Regions from separate parts of the Homo sapiens genome. Here region 1 is linked to region 2. The links are contacts of gene promoters, found by promoter capture Hi-C in human tissues and cell types (Jung and others, 2019). All regions are on one chromosome and are shown on one strand. The core of a region is centred on a gene start or on the middle of the fragment in contact, and the rest is flanking DNA. Distances in the headings are between cores, read along the strand shown. Region 1 has its middle 40 kb from the start of MOBP. Region 2 holds the start of MOBP (myelin associated oligodendrocyte basic protein).

Evidence for each region. Contacts are between HindIII fragments. The study calls those that stand out against the background at their distance.
Region 1: a fragment that was not itself captured here is called in contact with the fragment with the promoter of MOBP in region 2 in 5 of the 25 tissues and cell types used here (hippocampus, mesendoderm cells, neural progenitor cells and 2 more).

What each region holds. Positions count from the first base shown.
Region 1 is chr3:39,505,016-39,510,782 of GRCh38, forward strand. It overlaps a transcript of MOBP not described here. Among named protein-coding and RNA genes, the nearest start is that of MOBP, 40 kb to the left of the region's middle. RefSeq lists an enhancer at 877-1,376. The HindIII fragment of the contact is 4,996 bases long and covers 1-4,355 here.
Region 2 is chr3:39,463,480-39,468,978 of GRCh38, forward strand. MOBP (myelin associated oligodendrocyte basic protein) reads left to right here and starts at 4,201. Exons shown (of 4, transcript NM_001393704.1): 1 at 4,201-4,261. RefSeq lists an enhancer at 3,819-4,501. The HindIII fragment of the contact is 13,076 bases long and covers 570-5,499 here.

The DNA.
Region 1 (5,767 bases), core at 608-3,107, 39 kb after region 2:
CGATTTCCAGCATCCTGATTAAACATGGTAGCATTCATAATATTTGATAGGAGGAAACCGTGGCATCTCCCTCTTAGTTTATTCTGTCCTCCCAGTTCTAAGATTTTAGGATTTCACAAGGTTGTCCTTGCCTTTGGGTTTAACAGGTATGTCCTGGGCCTCTTTTGGTTTCAGTGTTCTGCTTTTGGGAGCTGGGGATCTGTGGTTCTTTGAAAACCACCATGGCTGTGGGTGGTTAATTTGGAGTCAATCAGTCACATATATTGGGAAGTGCTGTGTGTGCCTTTGACTCATTTTTTTCTGCACAGCATGTTTTATATTATTAAATTGAGCCCTGCACACAAGCAGCCTGGAAGACTATGATTTTCCAGGTAACAGCAGAGCTAGAGAAAAGGCCTGAGCTCTTTGCTTTCTGTTCAGGCTCTTGTTCTGCCTGTGTCTCAGGTTGCATTATTGCTTTTATTAGTTTGGGTGACTGAACTCTTGAATTTTGCCCTATCTGTGGCATATACTCTTTCCTATCTGGGAGCAGTCCTTTATACATCCTGGTGGTCCCTATAGCACAATGCTTATGCAGAACAGATGCTTTTGCAGAGGCCTAGGTTAGCCAGAGAGGCTTCCAGTCCTGGGAGCTGTGTGTTGTTTTGGAGTGTGACAGCCTCTGCCTGGTCACAGGTCCTTACCTGGTCCAGACCACATGGTTAACTACGCCTTCTCTGATAGCCTTAACCCAATTGTCTCTCATTCTCCTTCAACACTCGTTTTATAAATCCCTGATTCTAGATCAAGCTCACAACCTGCCTGCATTGGTTTTCCAGCTGCTGAGGATGGTCATGTGTGCATAGAGCTGCTGAGTGCAGTTTGGGAAAAGCTTTATAGCCTGGTGGGTTGGTGCCACCACAAATGGATGAACCCCAGCCACTCCCCAGACTGTCCTGGCTCCACCAGCCCCCACACGTTCATCAGAATATGCATCTGTCTTTAAATCCTTCCCCTCAGCCTCAGAGGTTGAAGCATTCATTCGCTGATGAGGCCAGTCCCCCACCCCTCCCTGTGATCTTCCAACCTCTTATCTCCTTTGAGGTCTTGCTGTACAACTTAGCAACCCCCCTAACCACTTCAGCCTTTGTATCTTGTCTCTTTCTCATTAGCATTTTGACGTGTTTTGCTCTCTCATATTGACTGTTTGTTCACGTCTGGCCCTATCCTCTTTTCTCTCTACCTTAGACAAATTTTAAAAAGAATAGTGTAAACTCGTCATCTTTACTTCCTCAAATCCCATTTGCTCTTCAATTCATTGTGTTCTAATTTCTTCCCTTAGCACCCCCGCCCCTGGAATTCCTCTTGTGCAGATTCCTCCAGAAGTAACAATGCAAGGGCAAGAAGTTTATTTGGGAGGTGAAGGGGACACTGGAGGAATGTGGGAAGCAAGATAAGGAAGGGAAAGAGCCAATTAAAAAAAAGCATTATCTAACCAATTCTCACCGTGGGTTCCTGGGACTTAGTCCTGCCGAGGACCTCTGGGGAACAGTGTAGACATGTGCGTCAGTTATCTTACCAGAGGGGTGGAGGAACTGGGATATTTATACACCAGTTCTCGTCAGACATTAGTCAGCCAACGCTGCTTCAAGGATGGGGGCATTCATTCTTTGACACGTCTAGCTTGTTAAGGAGATGGCAAAGTGGACTGCAGCAGCAAGATAAAAGCCCTCAGGAAAAGAAAGGCAAGTGCTGGCACCTGGAAGTGGGGCTGAGCACAAGAGTGGTAAGGGCAAGGGGTTATGGGCAAGGCACCAGTAGTGTTTGCTCTAATGGTTACCTGTGGCCTTCATGCTGCTTTTCCTAATGAGTGCTGAACCCAATCTGTATATCAGTGGTGCTTTCTGTTGGATTTGTTGGGCTGTTCTCTCATTCAGTCTTTAAACTCTCTGTTCTCTTGGTTTCTGTGACTCTCTTCTTCCTTTTCTCTGCAGGAACTTTCCTTCTTCATCTTCTTGTGAGTGCTTCCTTTTCTGCCAATTGCTCAACCTTGAGGTCCCCTAGGGTTCCCTACTGAGCTCTCTGCTTATATGATTTTGCCTTCTCTTGTGGTTTTAATTATGACTCACGTGTGATGACTTCTAAACCTTAATTCATCATTGACATTAATATGTGAGCCTATTCACTCAGCAGATCAATTTGATGTTGGAAAACCTAATCTGTCTACACTTGATTTCTTTCCTACAAAACTTGTTCTTCTTTTTGTTTGCTATCTCAGCAAATAACACAGCTGTCCAACTAATCCCCCAAGTTGGAAACCTAAGCACATTGTAACTTCCAATTTTCCCCTGCATATAAATGCTGGCCAATTTGACTTTCTGATGGGAAGGGGTGCAGGATTGAGATCAAGCTAGAAACAAAGTAGAGGGAATGGAGGTAGTTGATAAAATAAGTCTCCTCCATAGCACATATGGAGGGATTGGCCTTTGATGGGAACAAGAAAAGCTGTTAGATTGTGCAAAGTAGAGAGAGACCCATTAATAGGCATTAAGATAGAGGTCATGCCCGAGAATGAGCGAGCTAGAAGTTTGAGAAGGTTAGGGTACACCTGGAATGTTAGAGACCAGGCTTCTAGGCAGTAGTTAGGGCTGGCTGAGCTGAGCTCAACAGAGCTGTATATAAATCATTTGTTCTTAAGGAGCTCCTTCTCCAATGAAAGGAAACAGATTGCCACCTCTGAAATTATCAGTGGAATCACACAACTCCACATCCACACTCTGCTTCTCTTCCAACTTGTTTGCCAAATGCCCTCACAGCAACTGTTCTTAAACTTTACCATGTGCCTCCAGTGTTCTGACTCCTCCATTTTTATCTCCATCTATCAGACTCCACTTTCCTCGCTTTCCAAATTAGAAATGATATCCCAACATTTTAATGTCGTTCACAAATACCCTAGAATCCCCTGCCTTCTGAATATTTGTCTTACACCCCTGGGAAAACCCCAGCCTTTGATGAACCCAGCTAACTGGCTTCACCATGTTTGTTTTTGGGCAGCTAAGCATCACTGGAGAACAGCACACAGCAGGACGATAGTAGCTGGGTATAAGCAGAATTGTGTTTATCCTATCACTAAGCAGTTTCCTTTGGGCAGTTATAGTTCAATTGCATGCATTCAGACAAAAAAGGAAGCATGTACCTCAAAAGTGTCATGTATGCATGTGTAGTTTATATGCTCACACACATACTTCATATGTATCAGGCTTACTGAAGTATAATTTACATGTGGTAAAATTAAACTCTTTTGGCATACATTTCTACGCACATAGTCCTGTGACTACTGCCACAAGTAAGATATAGAATATTTTCATTACCCTTCAAAATTTCCTTATATTTCACCTATGCAGTCAACTCCCCAGCCCATAGTAACCACTGACCTATCTTCTGTCCCTAACTTTTGCCTTTTCTAAGATTCCATATAAGTGGAATTATGTAATATTATAGCCTTTTGAGCCTGGCTTCTTTTACTTAACATAGTGCTTTTGAACCATATTGTTGCATTTTTTTTTTTTTTTTGAGACGGAGTCTCACTCTGTTGCCCAGGCTGGAGTGCAATGGCATGATCTCGGCTCACTGCAACCTCTGCCTTCTGGGTTCAAGTGATTCTCCTGCCTCAGCCTCCTGAGTAGCTGGGATTACAGGCATGCGCCACCATGCCTGGCTAATTTTTGTATTTTTAGTAGAGAGGGCTTTCACTATGTTGGTCAGGCTGGTCTTGAACTCCTGACCTCATGATCTGCCCACCTCGGACTTTCAAAGTGCTGGGATTACAGGCATAAGCCACCGCGCCTGGCCCCAACATTTTAATCTCTTTCACAAATACCCTAGAATCCCTTGCCTTCTGAATATCTGTCTTATACCCCTGGGAAAACCCCAGCCTTGGATGAACACAACTATATATACAGGCATCCCTATACAGTATATATGTATATAGTATATATACATATGCATCCATATAGTCTCTCTCTATATATGTGTATGTTTATATGTATGTGCATATATGTATATACATACGTGCACATATGTGTGTGAGAGTGTTTGTGTGTGTGTGTGTATATATATATATATATGGATTCACATGCCACAGTTTGCTACTCACCGGTTGAAAGATGTTTGTTTCCAGTTTTGGTGATTATGAATAAAGCTGTGAACATTATGTGAACATAAGTTTTCCTTTCTATTGGGTAAATAATTGGGACTGGTAATGCTGGGTAATATGGTAGTTATTTGTTTAAACTTCTAAGAAACAGCTAAATTATTTTCCAAAGAAGTTGTAACATTTTTCATTCCTACCAGTAACCTGGGCTTATTGTTAACACTTGGTACTATCAGCTTTAAAAATTTTATTCATTCTGATAGGTATGTAATGGTATTCATTGTAGTTTTAATTTTGCATTTTCCTAATGACTAGTGAAGTTGAGCATCTTTTAATGAGTATAAAGATAATCCACTAAAGACACTTATTTGGTGAAATCTCTGCTTAAATCTTCTACATATAAAAATCGGATTGTTTTATTATTGTATTTTGAGGGGTCTAAAAATATTCTAGATACAAGACATTTATAAACAATATGTTTTGCAAGCATTTTCTCCAGGTCTGTGACTTGCCTTTTTATTTTATTCACAGTGTTTTGTGAAGAGCCAAAGTTTTGACAAAGTCAAATTTATCAAATTTTACTATCACACTGGTCTTTAAAAATAAAAAATTATTATTTTTTATTTTTGATACCCCAGTTTCTTCACCTCTCTGATGAGATACAGATGAGATACTGATGTACAGGTCTACACTGTTCCCCAGGGACCCCCAGCAGGGTCATACTTTTTGTGTTGTATTTAAGAAATCTTTTTCTAATTCAAGGTCACAAAGATATTTTCTTGTAGAAATTTTAAATTCTAGGTTTTACTTTTACAGTATTATCCATTTTAAGTTAATTTTTTGTAATGGTGTGACGTATGAATTGAGGTTCAATTTTTTTGTATATGGTTTGCATATGGCTCAATTTTTTTGTAATTATTTCAACATCATTTGTTGAAAAGTTTCTCCACTGAATTACCTTTGCAATTTGGCCAAAAATCAGTTGATCATATATTTATGGGTTTATTTCTAGACTTTCTATTTTTTCTATTAATTTATATATCTTTCCTTTCACCAAAGCCATACTTTATTACTGTAGCTTAGTAGTAAGTATTGAAATCAGTTAGTGTGAATTCTCCAACATTGTTCTTCATTTAAAAAAATTGTTCTGGTAAAAAATTATTCGAGTTTTTTTACTTTTCCATATAAATTTTCATTGTGTCAGATTCTACAATATATTATGGTAGGATTTTGAAAGGAGCTGTGTTGACCTTATAAATCAATTTGGGGAAAACTATAACAATACTGAGTCTGATAATTCATGAACATGGTATATCTCTCTATTTATTTAGGTCTTTTTTTGTTTTGTAGTTTCTAGTACATAGATCTTGCACATATTTTGTTTGGTTTGTACCTAAGATTTTATGCTTTTTGGTGATATCAAAAATAGCATTCTTTTTCAATTTTGATTTCTAATTGTTCATTGCTAGTATACAAAAATATAAGTGAATTTTGTATATTGATCATGTATCCTGTGATTTTGCTAAACTTACCTATTCTAGATTTTTTGTGGTAGACTCTAGGGTTTTCTATACTGCAAATTATGTTGTCTTTGAATAGAGACGGTTTGATATTTTTCTTTTCAATCTGTATGCC
Region 2 (5,499 bases), core at 2,951-5,450:
TTCACTTTGAATGGTGAAGTTTCAGAACAACTGGGGTCAAAATAAGATCTTGAACATTTCCAGAGGCTTACAAAAAATCACAGAAAAAGCAGTGGGCATCTGAAAGGTCTGGAACTCCTCAAAAACAACACTGGAGGGGAAGATACAGAAAACCAATGTATCATCCACATTGTTTTTCTAAGGGAAAATACTTTTCAACTTAGAATTCTATACACAAACAGGCAATCAAGTGTGAGGGCAGAATAAAGGAGTTTTCAGGGACGCAAACACTTAGAAAAATTCACTTAATATATACTCTTTCTAGGAAAAGTATTGTAAGGCATGCTTCAGAAAAATGAGGGAGCAAACCAAAGATGAGGATGGCATGGGATCCAGGACAAGGTGATCTCTTTCCAGCAAAGCAATGAAGGGAAGAGCCAGGGCTGCGCCGGGTCTACAGAGCAACCAGCCTGAAATCTGAATGAGATGACAGAGGATTACAGAAGACAATAGATGTGAAAGATCATTCAGTATATTGGAATGCTTAAAAATTATTAACAGATAGTTGACAGATCTGTTGGAATATTTGGAAAAAAGGATGTAGTGTAAAATTTAAAACTAAGCAGATTAAAATAAATGAATAAAATTAAAAATGGGGTGATTATTAACTCCAGGAACAAGAAATTTGTACAAAGAAAGGAAACAATTGTAGTTAATCACAAGGTTCTGAAGGAAATAATATTTACATATTTATAATAATATAAATACTAACTACATTCAGTAGGTAAGGGAAAAGGGAGAGGAAAAAGTAGAATGTAAGAAAACTATACCCTTAAGAGGAAACCAATAACCTACCATAAATAGGTATATAAATGGCTATTTGTGTGAATTATTTAGATATATGGAAATAAATAGAGAAAAGATAGCTAAGAAAAGGTTTAAAATGGTTGCCTCTGGTGGCTGGGATGTTGACTGGTGAGGCAGCATAAGGGACTATTGTTTTCCAACAGAAGCCTTTTAATATTATTATAACTTTGCACAAGTGTTATTTTGATAAATGTAGAAACCAATTGAAATAGTACTTATTGTCACTGTGGCGTATTAGTTTGTTAGGGCTGCTGAAGTAAAGTACCACCAACTGGGTGACGTACACAACAGAAATGAATTGTCTCACAGTTCTCAAAACTTGAAGTTTGAGGTCAAGGTATGGGCAGGGCTGGTTTCTTCCGAGGGCTGTGAATGAAGGATCTGTTCCAGGCCTCCTTCCTTGGCTTGTGGATGACCATCTTCTCCCTGTGGCTTCACATTGTCCTCCCTCCAAATGTGTCTTTCTGTCCAAATTTCTTCTTTGTGTAAGGACACTAGTCATGTTGCATCAGAGCCCACCCTAATGACTTCATAACTTGATCACCTCTGTGGTCTGTCTTCAAATCCTTATTTGAATCCAAATTCTTTTTTTTTTTTTTTTTTTGAGACAGAGTCTTGCTCTGTCACCCAGGCTGGAGTGCAGTGGTGCAATCTTGGCTCACTGCAACCTTTGCCTCTCAGGTTCAAGCGATTCTCGATTCTCAGCCTCCTGAGTAGCTGGGAATTAAAATCCTCTGTAATGTTAGGCACATGCCACCACACCTGGCTAATTTCTTTGTATTTTTAGTAGAGATGGGGTTTTGCCCTGTTGGCCAGGCTGGTCTCAAATTCCTGGCCAAAGTGCTGGCCTTACCGGAGTGAGCCACTGCACCCGGCCTCATTCCAAATTCTGAGATACTAAGGGTTAGGACTTCAACAAAGGAATTTGAGAGATGAGGGATGGGACACATTTTAACTCATAACATGTGGGGATTGTCAATTGTAGCCAAAGTTTCTGTGGGAAAATCCTCTGTAGTGTTAGCAAGTTTCTTAATTGTGACTGTGAGTCCTGGGAGGTCTTGCTCTGTGTGGAACACAGGCTGCCATTCAAGAAGAGTGACACTGACTCAGACGTGGCCTCCCCAGTGGTTCTGGGAGTGAGGGTGCCACCGCACTAAGGGCAAACACTAACATTTAAGTAGAAATAGAAAAAGATGGCATTACAAGCATTTTGTGGAACCTCCATACTTTGGTTGTGTAAATTGTATATCACTCTATATATGGTGGAGTAGAAGATCAAAGATGGGACTTCCCCAAAATGTGTCATTAAGAACTTTTGTTGGAAAGATTTGAGAAGCAGAGGGTCTTTTAATAAAGATAGAGCTTTATAATATATCTACTAGATCTTGTATTTTTTAAATAGCCTGAATTAGTCTCCAGTTATTTTGTGAATAGAAAACAAGTCCTTACAACTGCCACCCACCCCTGTTGGTAACCTTCTTTAGGGCCAGGGCCATAAGAGTGACATTGGTGCAGGACTCTGTGTGCCAGGCATTCTTTCCACCAGTGAACACATATTAACTGATTTAGTCCTCACTCAAATCCTTGAGGTGGGTCCTGTGATGATCCTAGTGTCAGTGCCTCCAGAGCTCAAGCTCTAAACCATCTTACCCTACTCCCCAGCCCTCAGTCACAGTCAGTACAACACAAGCAAAATACTGGCATCACAGTGGGAGTGAATCAACCAGCATACGTCTATAACTCATTACTCAGAGAATGTTTAATTAACTATAAAGTTAGTATACGAAGAGGCCAGGCACGGTGGCTCAAGCATGTAATCCCAGCACTTTGGGAAGCCAAGGCAGGCGGATCACCTGTGGTCAGGAGTTTGAGACCAGCCTGGGCAACATGGCGAAACCCTGTCTCTACTAAAAAATACAAAAATTATTCAGGCATGATGGTGGGTGCCTGTAGTCCCAGCTGCTCGGGAGGCCGAGGCAGAAGAATAGCTTGAACCCAGGAGGTGGAGGTTGCAGTGAGGTGAGAGCGCCACTGCACTCCAGCCTGGGGGACAGAACCAGATTCCGTCTCAAAACAAAAACAAAAACAAAAATGTTAGTGTACAAAGAGATTTATAGTCAATGTTTGTAGTCTCACTGGATTACCTTTTCAAGGTTCCCTGGCTGATTCTTTACTGAGACAAGAGCCTAAAGAGAAACTTGGTGGTAATGTTGACATTTATATTACACTGTCATGGAGGGGGCGCTGGGAATTCAAAAGGCAAGGCTGCTGTTGGTTGGATTGGTTTCAGAAGTAAGCTTTCATCTTTCAAATCATTAGTGGGTAGTTCTAGTTCTACATATATAAAATAAATAGCAGAAGCAGAGTTACAGGACCCATGGCATTTAACAGAGCACAGAAAGGTGTGGCCCCACATTTTAGGTTAGGAAAATTATAAGAAAATGCCGGTGTCTAAGACTGAAGCCAATAAAATGTTAATTGAATGAGATTTATCATTCGCAGAAACTGTTCAACATAAGAGATGATTTATACGTGTTTTCATAAATGTGAATGCATAGGGTAATTGTCATGGAAACTTCCAAATTCAATGTTAGTTGTAACTAGACTGGATTAGACTCTTGCTAATCAAGTGTACAAGGGCATGCTTGTGTGAATTTTAGTTTTGGGGTGTATCTATGGGTATACATGAGTGTTTTAGGGAAGGAAGTGTGATCGGTATTTAATCTACATGGAGTATAAAAACTCCTGGAATTTGTCAATGTGATTGCAGCTGTGTTCATGGCTTATGGGTATGGCTTGTGATGTGTGAGTGAGGTATGGGGTGCTGGGTGGGATGGCGCTGTGGTGGCATAGCATGTTGGTGGAAGGGTGTGTGGTTTGGTAGGGTGAGCTGGTGTGTGGTGTGGTTGGACCTGGCATGGAACTTAACTGGAGTTTATGTGGAATGAACCTTGAGGGGTGAGTTTTCACATGGGGTGTTGATTATGTGGGAGGTGGGAGGCTGGAATATGTGAATGTTGGGGGGCTGTAGAGTGAATGTGGGGTGCGTGTGTATGTGTGTGTGAGATATGGTTATAGCTTAGCTTAGCTTTTGTTTAGATTTTCTTTTGCTCTTTGTTTTTGTCTTTGGCCTTTGTTTTATCTTTGTTTCGCTCTTTGTTTAAACTTTCTTTGGCTTTTGTTTGGTCTTTCTTTAGCCTTTTGTTTAAACTTTGTGTGGCCTTTTTGTAGTCTTTGTGTAGCTTTTGTTTTTAAGTGGATCTTCGCTGAGGACTCATCAAAAACACCTTGTGTAATGAAAAACCCAGATCTATAACCTCTCCCTATATATTCTGCATGCATTGAAGTAGGCTCAAACCCTCAGGGACCTGGTATAGACGCAGAATCTGTTTCACACAACAACTGCTATTTGAAGGTAAGAGGATTCCATTGGTTTTTATTTTACTTCATTTTATACTTTCATCTTTAAATGACAAGTGTACTTTTTTGTATGGGCCATTTCATTATATCCCAGGGAAAACTTTCTGTAAGAATAGTCAAGATTGAGAGGACATACAAGGATGGAGAAAACAAGAACAGAGGACACCATGTTTATTCTGATGTGGGCAGGGGGCCTCCTGGAATGTTCCTGCTAATGTTTGGAAATCGTCTGAGCCCAGAGAGAGGCTCTGAGCCCTTACTCAGATTTCCTCAGATTCAAAGCCCCATGTTCCTGGAGCTAGATGGATGGTAGTACATGCTGCTGCTGCTGCTGCTTTTTTTTTTTTAATTTATTTCTTCTTTTATTATTTGTCATGATTTAAAAATGAGTTTTTCTTCTTATCTAGGAACAATTTTTTTCCTCATACAGTTGGATTTATGTGTGGGGGATCTTAATGGAACAACAAAGCCCAAATCTTTTCGGAATTCTGCCCCCTGTAGACCAACAACCTTAAATGGAAAGGCGCTAATGCTTTGTCTGATACAGAATATCTTAGAAACAACAGGGAGTTTTCAGTTCTATGGATGACAGAGAAAGGAAAAAATATTATGTGTCAGGGAGGCGAGTAATGAACTTGGCCTACAGTACTAGCAGGAAAACGGGGAAAGGACTTTTTAATTCTTTGTGAATAAATCAGGGAGGCAGAGAGCAGGCTGCTGCCAGGTGTGCGGATATGCTGTTTCGTATTTAGAATGACAGGAAACTTGTTGGTGAGTGAGTTTTAAAAATTGTTTCAGATTTTCAGAAAAGTTGCAAACAATACAGAAAATTTCAGGTGCAGCCAAATTACCCAGATGTTCCTGTTTTACCATATTTCCTTTATCATTCTCTTTCTCTCTCTCTGTATCCATACATATGGGTGTATATATAAAAATATGTGTGTGTATATACATATATACATATGTGTGTGTATATACATATATACATATGTGTGTGTATATATACATATATACATGTGTGTGTATATATACATATATACATGTGTGTGTATATATACATATGTGTGTGTATACATATTACATATGTGTGTATATATACATATATACATGAGTGTGTATATATACATATATACATATGTGTGTGTATATATACATATATACATATGAGTGTGTATATATACATATATACATTGTGTGTATATATACATATATACATATGTGTGTGTATATATA